Regions from separate parts of the Homo sapiens genome. Here all the other regions are linked to region 4. The links are contacts of gene promoters, found by promoter capture Hi-C in blood cells and fetal thymus (Javierre and others, 2016). All regions are on one chromosome and are shown on one strand. The core of a region is centred on a gene start or on the middle of the fragment in contact, and the rest is flanking DNA. Distances in the headings are between cores, read along the strand shown.

What was found. Contacts are between HindIII fragments. The CHiCAGO score rates a contact against its expected background, and 5 or more counts as called.
Region 1: the fragment with the promoter of KRTAP4-12 here is called in contact with a fragment that was not itself captured in region 4 in 8 of 17 cell types (total CD4 T cells, naive CD4 T cells, naive CD8 T cells and 5 more); the score reaches 11.5 in total CD4 T cells.
Region 2: the fragment with the promoter of KRTAP4-4 here is called in contact with a fragment that was not itself captured in region 4 in 2 of 17 cell types (total CD4 T cells and naive CD4 T cells); the score reaches 5.5 in total CD4 T cells.
Region 3: a contact is called between the fragment with the promoter of KRTAP4-2 here and a fragment that was not itself captured in region 4, in 5 of 17 cell types (total CD4 T cells, naive CD8 T cells, activated CD4 T cells and 2 more). The highest score is 8.3, in total CD4 T cells.
Region 5: a contact is called between the fragment with the promoter of KRTAP4-6 here and a fragment that was not itself captured in region 4, in 6 of 17 cell types (non-activated CD4 T cells, total CD4 T cells, naive CD4 T cells and 3 more). The highest score is 8.3, in non-activated CD4 T cells.

The regions. Positions count from the first base shown.
Region 1 is chr17:41,122,766-41,125,465 of GRCh38, forward strand. KRTAP4-12 (keratin associated protein 4-12) reads right to left here and starts at 1,417. Exons shown (of 1, transcript NM_031854.3): 1 at 326-1,417. The coding sequence starts at 1,357. The coding sequence ends at 752. RefSeq lists an enhancer at 544-1,097. The HindIII fragment of the contact is 5,176 bases long and covers 1-2,281 here.
Region 2 is chr17:41,159,372-41,162,071 of GRCh38, forward strand. It overlaps KRTAP4-4 (keratin associated protein 4-4), which reads right to left and starts at 1,377. Exons shown (of 1, transcript NM_032524.2): 1 at 278-1,377. The coding sequence starts at 1,320. The coding sequence ends at 820. The HindIII fragment of the contact is 13,067 bases long and covers 1-2,700 here.
Region 3 is chr17:41,176,800-41,179,499 of GRCh38, forward strand. It overlaps KRTAP4-2 (keratin associated protein 4-2), which reads right to left and starts at 1,422. Exons shown (of 1, transcript NM_033062.4): 1 at 647-1,422. The coding sequence starts at 1,365. The coding sequence ends at 955. The HindIII fragment of the contact is 17,641 bases long and covers 1-2,700 here.
Region 4 is chr17:41,532,685-41,535,384 of GRCh38, forward strand. No RefSeq gene overlaps it. Among named protein-coding and RNA genes, the nearest start is that of KRT19, 5.7 kb to the left of the region's middle. The HindIII fragment of the contact is 1,193 bases long and covers 681-1,873 here.
Region 5 is chr17:41,139,151-41,141,850 of GRCh38, forward strand. It overlaps KRTAP4-6 (keratin associated protein 4-6), which reads right to left and starts at 1,394. Exons shown (of 1, transcript NM_030976.2): 1 at 283-1,394. The coding sequence starts at 1,337. The coding sequence ends at 720. RefSeq lists an enhancer at 526-1,038. The HindIII fragment of the contact is 3,012 bases long and covers 1-1,818 here.

The DNA.
Region 1 (2,700 bases), core at 167-2,666, 410 kb before region 4:
GATTCTAAAATAAAAGTTGAAATTATTTTTTAAAAGATGATGAGTTGTGATCAATCTTTCAAAACGTTTCCCCTGTTGTTATATTCATGGATATTTCATGACTTCAGCTTCACTCTTTTTGTCTAAAGAATACAAAATGACTAATTGATTTGCCTAAGCCTGAAAAGACTTTTCTAGAAAAAAACTAGGCAGTGATCGATGTCAGTTGACCTCTGTTAGAAGGTTGACTAATCTGTGCTGTGAGCCCTACAGGTGTAGTTAAATGTAATCACCCAGGACCTAAATATAAAACCCTTTTTAAAAAGAGAATAAGAATCATATTCAATTTTCAGTGCCAATAGAATAGAGGTTTATTTTGGTACATGGAAATAACAAGGTACAAAAATGTTTGCAAAAGACTTTAAGAGAGAGACTTCACTGGACTTCAAGGTTGGAGGCTTTAAGATCTGTGGCCCTACAAATGATGGAGGCAATCTTCAAATTCCTTAGGCATGATGAATAAATGTCCTGAAGTCAAAGAGGTGGGAGGATGTTGGAGGACAATTTGTCAATTTATTAGGAGATTGTCAATGAATTCCTTTGGAAGGAAGGGAGTTTGGACAAAAGGTAGAATGCAAATACAGAATTTCTAAGGATGAGGTTTGCTTATGGGACCCAGATCAATTCTCTTGAACAGTCCGCATGTTTGCAATGAGAGCCTTCATCTGTAGGAAAGGACGTAATAAGGAAGTGGTGTGTTCACAGCAGAGATTTAGCAGCAAGAGGAGGCACAGCACAAGGGGCGGGGGCAGGTGGAGATGACACAGGTTGGGCGATAGCAAGTGGTGTGGCAGGAGACTCGGCCACAGACTGGACGCAGGCAGCAGCAGGGGCGGCAGCAGCTGGATTCACAGCAAGAGGGGCAGCAGCTGCTGGAGATGCAGCAGCTGGGGCGGCAGCAGGTGGGCTGGCAGCACACAGACTGGCAGCACTGGGGTCTGCAGCAGCTGGACACACAGCAGCTGGGGCGGCAGCAAGTGGTCCTGCAGCAGGTGGTCTGACAGCAGCTGGGGCGGCAGCAGGTGGGCTGGCAGCACACAGACTGGCAGCACTGGGGTCTGCAGCAGCTGGACACACAGCAGCTGGGGCGGCAGCAGGTGGTCCTACAGCAGGTGGTCTGACAGCAGCTGGGGCGGCAGCAGGTGGGCTGACAGCACACAGACTGGCAGCACTGGGGCCTGCAGCAGCTGGACACACAGCAGCTGGGGCGGCAGCAGGTGGTCCTGCAGCAGGTGGTCTGGCAGCAGCTGGGGCGGCAGCAGTTCTCCAGGCCACAGCCCTGGTCAGAGCACACAGAGCCACAACAGGAGTTGACCATGGTGTCAGAGGGTGGAGGTTCTCGGTGGGTTTCCAGGAGAGTGAGTGTTCTGAGTTTGATCTCTCCTTGTTCTCTCTTTTGCTTTTTATACCCTGCTGAGAACCACTATGACAATGTGAATAATCTTGTGGTTTGCACATTACTAATAGAGAATCAGTTGTTTTTTAGTAAATTAGATAGTTGTCCTTATCTGGTAAATATTTCTATAAATAGAAAAGGCAACATTTCCTTTTCCTGTTGTATTCTGAGCTATCCAATTTGGTTAAGCCAAGTGAATCAGCTCTCATTCTCCTTCCTTCATCTGATGTGTCTTCTGATGTGTAGACCCATTACATGACATTGTTTGATTGGATTTCATAAGTTAATTCTTTATTTATTTGACTCCTGGATAATAAGTTGAAAATAGATTTTATGATGACTAAATCTCCTCTGCTCTCAAAGAGGTTAAAAATAAATTACATAGAATGCTGGTAGGAAAATGTGATGAAAGATTCATCTTTGGGGGGTGATAGGAGGTAACTTGTGTATAATAAGGAACACTGTGATTCCTTTGAATTTTGTGGCTGGTCAGTGAGATATAAAAGATCCCACTGAAATTCCTGTTTCATGTTATTGACTCTATTTAGCTTGAAACAGATATAATGCAATGATTCATTGCTTTACAAGTAAAAATACATTGGCATGATAGGTCCCTTTATAAATTATTGTTGGCATGTTCTTCAGAGATGGGGATCATAAGGAACATTTTTGTTCTATTTTGTTGGTAAGTCAAGATACCCACTGAATGTGTTTAACTGAAGTGTTATTGAAAGTAGATTTTCTCATACTCGAAAGCTGCTTTTTCTCACAATGTATGTTGGAGATATTTTGCTTGATACATGGAGAAAAGAAACAAAGGATCAAGTTTAATTTCTGTCCTACAGAAGCTTAAACAAGACAAATAAGAAACATGTATAGGAAAGAATTTAGCAACTATTTAGAGAATGGTGTGATTAGTGAACAAAATAACAATTATGTATTTAATCTGTACACTTCCAATGAAAGATGAAACAATACTAATAGTTATAATTTTTTGAGTGCTTACTATGTGTCAGGAATTTTCTGAGTCCTCTATAATTGTTATCTTGTTTATACTTCACAAGGATTCTGCTATGTAGACACAATTTTTCTAAATTCTTTACATCCAAGGTACTTGAGGCCCAGATAGATTGAAGTCACACAGTCTGTAACAGGGAAAGGGCGTCTCTCCTAGAGTGTTCAAGGAACATTTTGCGCATGAACATTTTGCAATTAAATCCCTCCTGATATTTAAAAACAATTATTTATAATTAAAAAGATGCAAG
Region 2 (2,700 bases), core at 127-2,626, 370 kb before region 4:
CTAAAGCATGTGTTCACCAACTCTCACTCATTTGTTGAATACTATTCCAAGAGGCTTTAACTCTACAGTCCAGAGCTTGCTCCTTGGCTAGAGAAACTCTTCAAGAAGAGAGTTCCAGGTGCTTGCTCTAAGAAACCACCATTGTATATTAGAATAAAGTGTGCTGAGGAAATAGAGGTGGTGCCCCTGAAATTACATTCTGCAGAGAAGAACAACAGAAAAATTGACTGGTAATTGACCACACTCAAAAAAGAAAAATAATGAGACACAGTATCTGTATATTTCTATGCCTGAAAATTTATTTAAGATTTATTTAGATAAATATTTGTTTAAAATGGAATAGCTCCATATGAGAAATTATGGCAGAGAGCAAATATTTCAATTAAGATAGTTGACAGATTTCAGAGCAAATTACAACTTATGTTCATTTGGTAGAGAGGTAAAATGTGGGGGGAGCATATATTTGGAGGCCAGATTCAATCTAAGAATTGGTTGGAACTGAAGTTTTCCAACTAGCTTCCCATAACTCAGCTCATAGATGAGCTACATCAAGAATGCTGGTTGATGAGAATCTGGTGAGTCCAGATGACAGCCTCAGCAGCAAGAAGCACTAGAGCAGGTTGGGCGGCAGCACATGGTCTGGCAGCAGTTGGGGCGGCAGCAACTGGAGATGCAGCAGGAGAGCCTGCAGCAGCTGAAGCCACAGCAGGAGGAGCTACTGCTGCTAGAGATACTGCAGGAAGGCTGGCAGCAGCTGGAAATGCAATAGCTGGGGTGGCAGCAGGTGGTCCTGTAGCAGGTGGTTTGCCAGCAGATGGGCTAGCAGCATAGAGACTGGCCACAATGGGGCCTGTAGCACCTGGACACACAGCAGCTGGGGCGGCAGCAGGTGGTTCTGCAGCAGGTGGTCTGGCAGCACTGGGGTCTGCAGCAGCTGGACACACAGTAGCTGGGGCAGCAGCAGGTGGGCTGGCAGCACACAGACTGGCAGCACTGGGGCCTGCAGCAGCTGGGGCGGCAGCAGGTGGTCCTACAGCAGGTAGTCTGGCAGCATTGGGGTCTGCAGCAGGTGGGCTGGCAGCACACAGACTGGCAGCACTGGGGTCTGCAGCAGCTGGACACACAGCAGCTGGGGTGGCAGCAGGTGGTCCTGCAGCAGGTGGTCTGGCAGCACTGGGGTCTGCAGCAGCTGGACACACAGCAGCTGGGGCGGCAGCAGGTGGTCCTGCAGCAGGTGGTCTGGCAGTAGCTGGGACGGCAGCAGTTCTCTAGGCCACAGCCCTGGTCAGAGCACACAGAGCCACAACAGGAGTTGACCATGGTGTCAGAGGGTGGAGGTTCTGGGTGGGTTTCCAGGAAGGAGGGTTTGGAAGGCTTGGAAGTCTCCTTGCCCCAGATCCTCTTTTATACCCTGCTCAGGGCTGATGTCATCGGATGCAGCACTCTTTCCTTGTCATTGTTTGTTCTGATGAGCAGGCAATTATCAAATTAGGCAAGTTTGTTTTTCTGCTTAAATTTGTCAACATGGAGAAAAGCATTATTTCCTTCCCCTGGTGTGTTAGGATTCTTCAGGTCAGCTCTTCTTGAACAACCTCTTGTGTGCCTCTTGCTGCAGCTTCCTCCTTGAGCTGCCATGTGACATCTGCCTGCAGGTACCATGTGCTGCAGCCTCATTTTCCTTAATACATTATGTCTGACCTTGGGTGATTTTAATTCTTCTAGGCCCGTAATTTTCTTTTGGTGACTCAGGAGGAGAAAGCTGTGCTTTAATCTCATGGCATGTTTGTTATAGATCAAGTGAGCAATGAAGGTTTGAATGTGAAACAGGTGACCAGTGGCATGAAAACAAATACTATTAGGATATATTCCTTGCCACCTTCCATACAATGAATCATGACCCATTTTCTAGATGTTCTACTGGGGAAAGCAGAATTGTTTTAAGGTGGACATCTAAGTCATGAATTATCGATGCTTCTTTTTCTTGAGAAACAACACTCCAAAACTCAGTTTCAGGGCCTTTAGGGGAAATTGGCTACAGAGATCAGCTATACTAAAAGGTTCAGGTCCCTCCGCTCTCTGCTCTGAGGGGCTGATTTTCCTTCTGACTTTTCCTTCCTGTCTCTCTGGCTTTAACAATCACATTGAGTCATCTCCTCTATTTCTAAGGTTTACTTGCCAACCTAAGGTAAAGGACCCAGTGTCCTTGCTATATATATATAATATATATATATATATATAATATATATTATATATATACATATATATACTATATATAGTATACACACACACGTATATACACACTATATATAAATATACACACTATATATAAATATGCACACTATATATAAATATACACACATACACACACATATATGTGTGTGTATGTATGTGTGTGTATGTGTGCGTGTGTGTGTGTATATATATATATATATATATATATACACACACACACGCACACATACACACACATTATGTCTGACCTTGGGTGATTTTAATTCTTCTAGGCCCATAATTTTCTTTTGATGTATATGTATATATATATATACACTCACACACACACAGGTTTGGGGGAATATATATATTCTGCCAAAGGACCTTAGGAATATATATATATATTATACATATATAGATGGGTAGATAGAGAACCTTATATATAGGTAATATAGGAATATATATATTTACATATTTATGAATATATAA
Region 3 (2,700 bases), core at 172-2,671, 360 kb before region 4:
GAGGTGTCCATTCAGGTGACAGTAAACTCAAGAGTTGATCAAAATCTATGGTAACCATTCATATTGTACAAAAACATTTTGAAGGACACTAATACTGAGATTAGGAATGCTGCTGTTTTAGATTGTGTGCTCTCTGGGGCAAACCCACAAAAGAGGATCTGAGAACATGTGGTATATTTGGACGATTAACCCAAGAAACACTGGAGGAAACTTGAAGAATGACCCTGGGAAGGAGGGAAAGTCATTATAGAGTGAGTTCATGATCAGAATGTTCCTGCAGGCATCTGGTATAAATCCCGCTGAAGACCTCTGGAAGACTGGTTTGACATACCCCCCACTGGAGGGAAACAAGCCAGGGCATATATTACCAACTCCCACTCATTCTCTGAGTGCTGTTCCTAGAGGCTTTAAGTCTCCAGCCCAGAGTTTGCTCCTTTATCCAGAGAAAGTCCTCAGGTAGAGAGTTCCAGGTGCCTGCTCTAAGGAACCATTTTCCTATGTTTGAATGGAGAGTGCTGATAGGATAGAGGTGGAGCCCCTGATATCATCTGCTGTGGTCTTCTCCCTCTGCAGGGAAGAACATCAGAAAATTTGACAGGTAAGGATGAGAATTCAAGAAGGAAAAATGAGACACAATGCCCGTATATTATTTGTATGCCTCAAAAATTAAAATTTATTTAAGATAGAGGAATAGCTCCATGTGATAAATTATGGTAGAGAGCAAATATTTCAATTCAGGGAACATGGGGTTGACATATTTCAGAGAAAATTCAAACTTGTATTCATTTGGTAGAGGGTAGCAACATAGTGTTTGGTGAGCATATTTGGAGGCCAAACTCAATCCAAGAATTGGTTGGAACTGAGGTTGTCCAATTGGCCTTGCATGATTCAGTTCACAGGTGGATCATATCAAGAATGCTGGTTAATAAAGGCAGGTGAGTATAGGTGAGGGCATCAGCAGCAAGAGCCACTAGAGCAGGTTGGGCGGCAGCAGGTGGACACACAGCAGCTGGGGCGGTAGCAGGTGGTCCTGCAGCAGGTGGTCTGGCCACAGCTGGGGCGGCAGCAGGTGGGCTGGCAGTACACAGACTGGCAGCACTGGGGTCTGAAGCAGCTGGACACACAGCAGCTGGGACGGCAGCAGGTGGTCCTGCAGCAAGTGGTCTGGCAGCAGCTGGGGCTGCAGCAGGTGGGCTGGCAGCACACAGACTGGCAGCACTGCGGTCTGCAGCAGCTGGACACACAGCAGCTGGGGCGGCAGCAGGTGGTCCTGCAGCAGGTGGTCTGGCAGCAGCTGGGACGGCAGCAGTTCTCTAGGCCACAGCCCTGGTCAGAGCACACAGAGCCACAACAGGAGTTGACCATGGTGTCAGAGGGTGGAGGTTCTGGGTGGATTTCCAGGAAGGTGGGTTTGGAAGGTTTGGAAGTTTCCTTGCCCCAGATCCTCTTTTATACCCTGCTAAGGCCTGATGTCATCAGATGCAACACTCTTTCCTTGTTATTATTTGTCCTGATATGTAGGCAATTATCAAATTAGGCAAGTTTGTTGTTCTGGTTAACTTATCCACATAGATGGAAACACTGTCTCCTTTCCCTAATGTGTTAGGACTCCTTAGCTCAGCTCTTCCTGAACCACCTCCTGTGTCTCTCTTACTATAGCTTCCTCCTAGAGCAGCCATGTGACATCTGCCTGTAAGCACATACTATGTGCTTCAGTCTCATTTGCTTAACACATCATGACTACTCTTGGGTGATTACTATTCTTACAGGCCCTTGACTCTTTCTGGTGACTCAGGAGGATAAAGCTGCATTTCAGTCTGATGGCTCCTTCATTATGGGTCAGATGGCCTGTGAAGGTTTCAGTGTGAAACAGATTTCAGTGTGAAACAGATGACCACTGGTGTGAGAACGAGAACACCGTAGGACCTATCGCTTTTTTATCTTCCGCACTCTGAATTGTGACCCATTTTCTAGACCTTCTGATGAGAAATACAGAGCTGTTTTAAGGTGGAAAACTAAGCTGTGAAAGTTTGATGTTTCCTTTTCTACAGAAACAACCCTCCAAAATTCAGATTCAGGGCCTCTTGGGGAATGTTGGCTTCAGAGAACAGCTATACTTAAAGGTCCAAGTCCCTCATTTTTTTGCTCCCTGGGGCAGATTTTCCTTGTGACTTTGCCTTTCTGCCTTCCTAGCTCTAACAGGGCACATGAGCTCATCTCTCCAGGTTCCAAAATTTTCTGGCCAACCCAAATTAGATGACTCAGTATCCTTTGCTTGCTCTAATTCGCTCCCAGCCCTCTTGCTTTCTCTGCTGAATTGCTGGGCCTTGAAGATGTCCTATACTCTGCTGCTTCCTTATAGAAGTTGTTGATCCAATTTCACACTTTACATCTTTGTTTTCAAAAAATAAATCAATAAAGAGAGAAAGAAAGCAGAAAACAGGTATCAAGAACAAAGGATATCAGCCTATATTTTTTCATGTAGGGATGGCTGACTATTGTTTCAAAAATGTGCTATGTTGTCAATTCATTAACTCATCAGTTAATAAATATATATGTATTTCCCCACCCCTGAGGAGTCAAGGAACCCAGGGAAGGGGGTGGAAAAATGTCTGACTTACCATGATAGAAATGTTTTATGAACTGGGCAGCCTCTGCAGATAATCAGGGGAGGAGTTTCAGTGTAAGCTGGTGTTTCTG
Region 4 (2,700 bases), core at 27-2,526:
TCCATTCATTCAGTGAACATGCATCAAGCGCAGCTTCTGTGCTACGCATGCTGCCAGGGGCTGGGGCACAGAAGTAAATACAAATATTTCCTGCCTCTAAGAGGCTGACAATCTGGTAGGGGGGTGTATAGAAGTGTATTAGCTTTGGTGAAATGTGGTAGGTTCAATAGCTACATCAATTTTGACTCCTTCCTAAAACCCTGCTATGATATGACAGTTAAGGAGTATTTTAAGAGAATGGAAGAAGAGGTGAGGCACAGTGGCACACGCCTGTAATCCCAGCGCTTTGGAAGGCCGAGGCGGGCAGACTGCTTGAGCTCAAGAGTTTGAGACTGGCCTAGGGAACATGGCGAACTCCTGTCTCTACCAAAAATGCAAACAATTAGCTGGGCATGGTTGTGTGCACCTGTAGTACCAGCTACACAGGACGCTGGGGTGAGAGGATCACCTGAGCTTGGGAGGTGGAGGCTGTAGTGAGCCAAGATTGCGTCACTGCACTCCAGCCTGGGTGACAGAGTAAGACCCAGCTGGAAGGGAGGAAGAAAGGAAGGAAGGAAGGAAGGAAGGGAGGGAGGGAGGGAGGGAGGGAGGGAGGAAGGGAGGGAAGGAGGAGGGGAGGGAAAGAAGGAGGGAAGGAGGAAAGGAAGGAGGGAGGGTCAAAGATGAGAAATGTCAACAAAAGCTTTAAAGCTCAAAAATGGTAACACAGAAGATGAGAGAAAGCTGAGACCCAGGGTTTGGGGGATTAGGAAGGGGTCAACAGAGGAGAGAGCAGGAAGCCCGTGAGAGGCAAGCACATTCTCAACATACTCTAAAGAAGCTCAAGAATTGGGGCACCACAGACATGGAGAGGAAAAGTGGAAGAGGGACCGTAAGCAGGGCTGGCTGGAAGTTTCTGTCAACAGTACCAGGCCCCCTCCCAGACCCCTACCCAACTAAGGCAGCCAGGGGACCACCTCTCCCCAATTCAGGAGAAGACAGGAGATTTACTTTTCCTGATTAGACTGGCCTGCTCACAACGTTTGATGATGTCAAGTGTAGAGAAGCCATGAGTAAATGAACCTCCTCAAACACATTGGTGGGAGGTGGGTTGTAGTAACCACTTTGCAGAGCGATTTGACAATGTCATCATTTTTTTTAACATTCATGCACTTCTTGAGCCATCAGTTCCACTCTTCGTGTTCATCCGAAAGAAACCCTGGCCCGTGTATTGAGGAAGTCATATAAAAGGATGCCCTATGCAGCATTGTTTGCTACAGTGCAAAGACACAAACAATCACTAATGGCGGGGAGGCGTTCAGTAACTATGTAACATCCTGCTGTGGAGGACTAGAAATTAAATGGAATGAGTAATGACAATGAATAGTGACACTGAAAACCCTAAAGAACTAGTTATTGGGCCGGACATGGTGGCTCACGCCTGTAATCCCAGCACTTTGGGAGGCCAAGGTGGGTGGATCACCTGAGGTCAGGAGTTCGAGACCACCCTGGCCAACATGGTGAAACCCCGTCTCCACTAAAAGTACAAAAATTAGCCAGTCGTGGCGGCGGGTGCCTGTAATCTCAGCTACTCGGGAGGCTAAGGCAGGAGAATTGCTTGAACCCGGGAGGCAGAGCTTGCAGTGAGCTGAGATCGAGCCATTACACTCCAGCCTGGGTGACAAGAGTGAAACTCCATCTCAAAAGAAAAAAAAAAAAAAACTAGTTGTTGGGTACAGTAAATCTAGTTGGAGAGCAACACACTTAATATGATAAATTCATGTCAACATACATTCAAAAGATGACTTATTGCTAAGGTCCATATGAATATGTATGAATATATGCATAGGTAAGGAAGGAATCTGATTGAAGGATGGTAGCCAATAGGAACCTAAGCTTAATCTCTATGGTTTTAAGTTTTATAAGAATGTATTTAGTATTTCTTGTTAATTAAAGTAAATAATTTCTTAAGTAACACTAAACCACAGACATTTAGAACTAGCCAAATTTCATATAGTCAATACCCTCTTCCCCTCCCTGCACTCACCACTGACATCATTGTCTCTGCTCATCCACACCAACCCTAGCCTTGAATTGAGAAATGAGAGAGGAAGTTTTGGAAGAGGGAGAACTAGATGTGAGGAGAAAAGAGACCCTGGAAAGGGTTTCCATCCTCGTGCCCCCACCCCTGGGTCCGCCAGGCTAGTTTTACTTCTTTATGAAACAAGAAGGCAAAACGGACAAGAAGAACTTTGGAAGAGTCTGAGTACAGGGAGAGCTCCTTGCAGCCGATGACTTACACCTGAGGAAAGCCCTCCCACTCTGGTTCTCCAAGGATCCATCGTCTGGAAGCATCTGAAGTTGGCCCCCCTGGGTGTTCTCACAACAGACAACAAGGCTCTCCCAGGTGGTGGCGTGGATCTGTGGGGCTACAGCTGGTGGCAGAGCAGAGGGTATTCTATGCAAGACAGCAGCCACCTTGTGGGCACATGCGAGGCATTCCCCTGGGGACTTTCTGAAATAACTGGAAGATCTTTAGGGGGTGCTGGAGTGGGAGCCACCATGTGGGCCATCAGGCTAGAGCTATTGACCCAGTATTGAGGTATGCCTCAAACCAATCAATGTGATCAAGTATGTAGACACTGGGAATTATGTCTGCCTGGGGGCATTGAGAGCTATTTAATTACAGAGGCATGACCCTTGAGCAAGAAGCTGACAGAC
Region 5 (2,700 bases), core at 144-2,643, 390 kb before region 4:
GAGAGGAGTGAGATTGTAGGGAAAGATACACTTTCAAAAATATTTAAGAAAATTTAGCTGTGGGATATAACCCTTCTCCATATTCATAAAAAAACTTAACTTAAAATCTTTATTTTTTTCAATACTTTTGGAAACATCCATGTATTGCCTTTTTTTTAGGTCATTACATGTTGCAATTTTCTTGAAGGTGAGAGCAAGAATAGGATTCGTTCAGTTGTGTTTTGGGTGGAATTTCTCAGGAACTAAGGACAATCATTACAAAGCAACACAAAAAGAACATTGTATTTCTATGCGACAAAAGTGGAGTTTTATTCAGAAGCAGCAAAAATAAGATACAGAAACATTGCTGTAAAAGGAAATACAGGGTGAAACAATCAGACTTTCAAATCTGAGAGTGAGACAACCTTGCCCCGAGTTACCCTGCAAGAATTTCCATGTTTGGGACAGAAGAACTTGGTATCCATAAATACAAATATAAGGTATAAAATTTGGTAAATTCTATTAATTTCTTTCTGTAAATAATATCTAATTTCACACTTGGGTCAACATGGGGAACATATATTCTAGATGTATAGCCAGGACATATATCCTAGATATATGTCCAGGATATGGAAACACAGTTGGTGGGAATGGCCTCTTCTGAGTTGTTTATGAGATGCACAAGGTCTGCTTCTGTGAGGAGTGAGCTGAAGGGGAGGAGATAGTTTCAGGCAAGGAGCTCAGCAGCAAGAGGAGGCACAGCACAAGGGACGGGGGCAGGTGGAAATGACACAGGTTGGGCGATAGCAAGTGGTGTGGCAGGAGACTCGGCCACAGACTGGACGCAGGCAGCAGCAGGGGCGGCAGCAGCACGGGCGGCAGCAGCTGGATTCACAGCAAGAGGGGCGGCAGCAGCTGGAGATGCAGCAGCTGGGACGGCAGCAGGTTGGCTGGCAGCACACAGACTGGCAGCACTGGGACCTGCAGCACCTGGACACACAGCAGCTGGGGCGACAGCAGCTGGAGATGCTGCAGCTGGGACGGCAGCAAGTGGGCTGGCAGCACACAGACTGGCAGCACTGGGGTCTGCAGCAGCTGGATACACAGCAGCTAGGGCGGCAGCAGGTGGTCCTGCAGCAGGTGGTCTGACAGCAGCTGGGACAGCAGCTGGGACGGCAGCAGGTGGGCTGGCAGCACACAGACTGGCAGCACTGGGGTCTGCAGCAGCTGGACACACAGCAGCTGGGGCGGCAGCAGGTGGTCCTGCAGCAGGTGGTCTGACAGCAGCTGGGGCGGCAGCAGGTCTCCAGGCCACAGCCCTGGTCAGAGCAGACGGAACCACAACAGGAGCTGACCATGGTGTCAGAGGGTAAAGGTTCTGGGTGGGTTTCCAAGAGAGTGAGTTTCGTGAGTTTGGGAGTCTCCTTGCTGCATGTCCCCTTTTATACCCAGCTGAGGAGCCTTTGTGATTATGAGAAGATTGTTTCCTTGTTTTTGTTTATATGACACAAATGCAATTACTAAATTATATTGTGTTTTTCTAGTAAAAAATCCCAATATATAGAAAATGATTATTTCCCTTTTCTCACCCTGGTGTTCCCACATGAGTCACCTCTTGTTTTCCTTTCCTTGGTTTCAGTGTCACATGACTTCAGTCTCTGGGTATCATGTGACATGGGAGGGCCACTGTCACTTGTCTGTTTCTCATCATGATATCGTTTTGGGAGAGCTTCTGATTGGGCTAAGATCTCTAGTGGAGAAATGCATGTGTCAATCAGCTGGAATGCTGACAGGAAAAAAAGAAAATATGCTCCTGTTTTTGAGTGTGAGAAATAAGGAAGCTTATGATTCATTGTATGTATTCTGGGTGGCCATTGAGCTAACTAAATTCCTAGGTCATTGCAAGCTGTGTTAATTCTCATCACTCTGGTGCACCTTGAAACAGTTAGTAGTGACTCACTGTTTCTAAGGAACAAAGCATCATCTGGGCTTGAGCTGCGTCTGTCTTCAAAAGTGTCCTACAGGCTGAAGTAGAGTAATGTGGATCATAGTTTTTGATCTGCCTTTTGAAATATCAAATGTGTAATGGTTATGCTTTATTGACATTTTGTTAAAATCTTTTTCATACATTTTGAGCTAAAACATCTAGCAGGGTTTTTTTTTAGTATCACTTATTTCTAAGATTTTTTAAGAAGCATTGAGAGGAATATAAAAGATATATTCTTTAACTTACAGGTACTTATGTAACTGTGGACCTCAATTTTAAAAATCACCCACTTTCTCTTCCTTTCCTCCCCTCTCACCTCTTCATTCCTTCCCTCTGCACACTCCCTTCTGGCAATACTATCTAATATCTTATCTAATTATATTCTTGCTTAAGAAATTCCAGAGGCTAATCTTGAAACAAACCAGGCACAGAGCCCTGAGGAATCCTCTCACTTAGGGGGAATCTTGAACAATTAATCCACCACCATTGGGCTGAAGTCAAAATAATGCCTCCCAAACCTCTGGACACCCAAGATAGCCATTGGAACAAGACATGCAGACTCAGCACCCTGCACCACCCCTGCATGTCTCCCATGCCAAGTTTCCCTTTCAAAACCCTATGGCAAATTTTAAAATTTAAGATGGCACTTTAGAATGCTAGTTCACTAGCTAAAGGATGTCAGTGAGATATATCTTGGGGTGAAATGTTTTTATTTCCTTCACTTAGCATTCTTC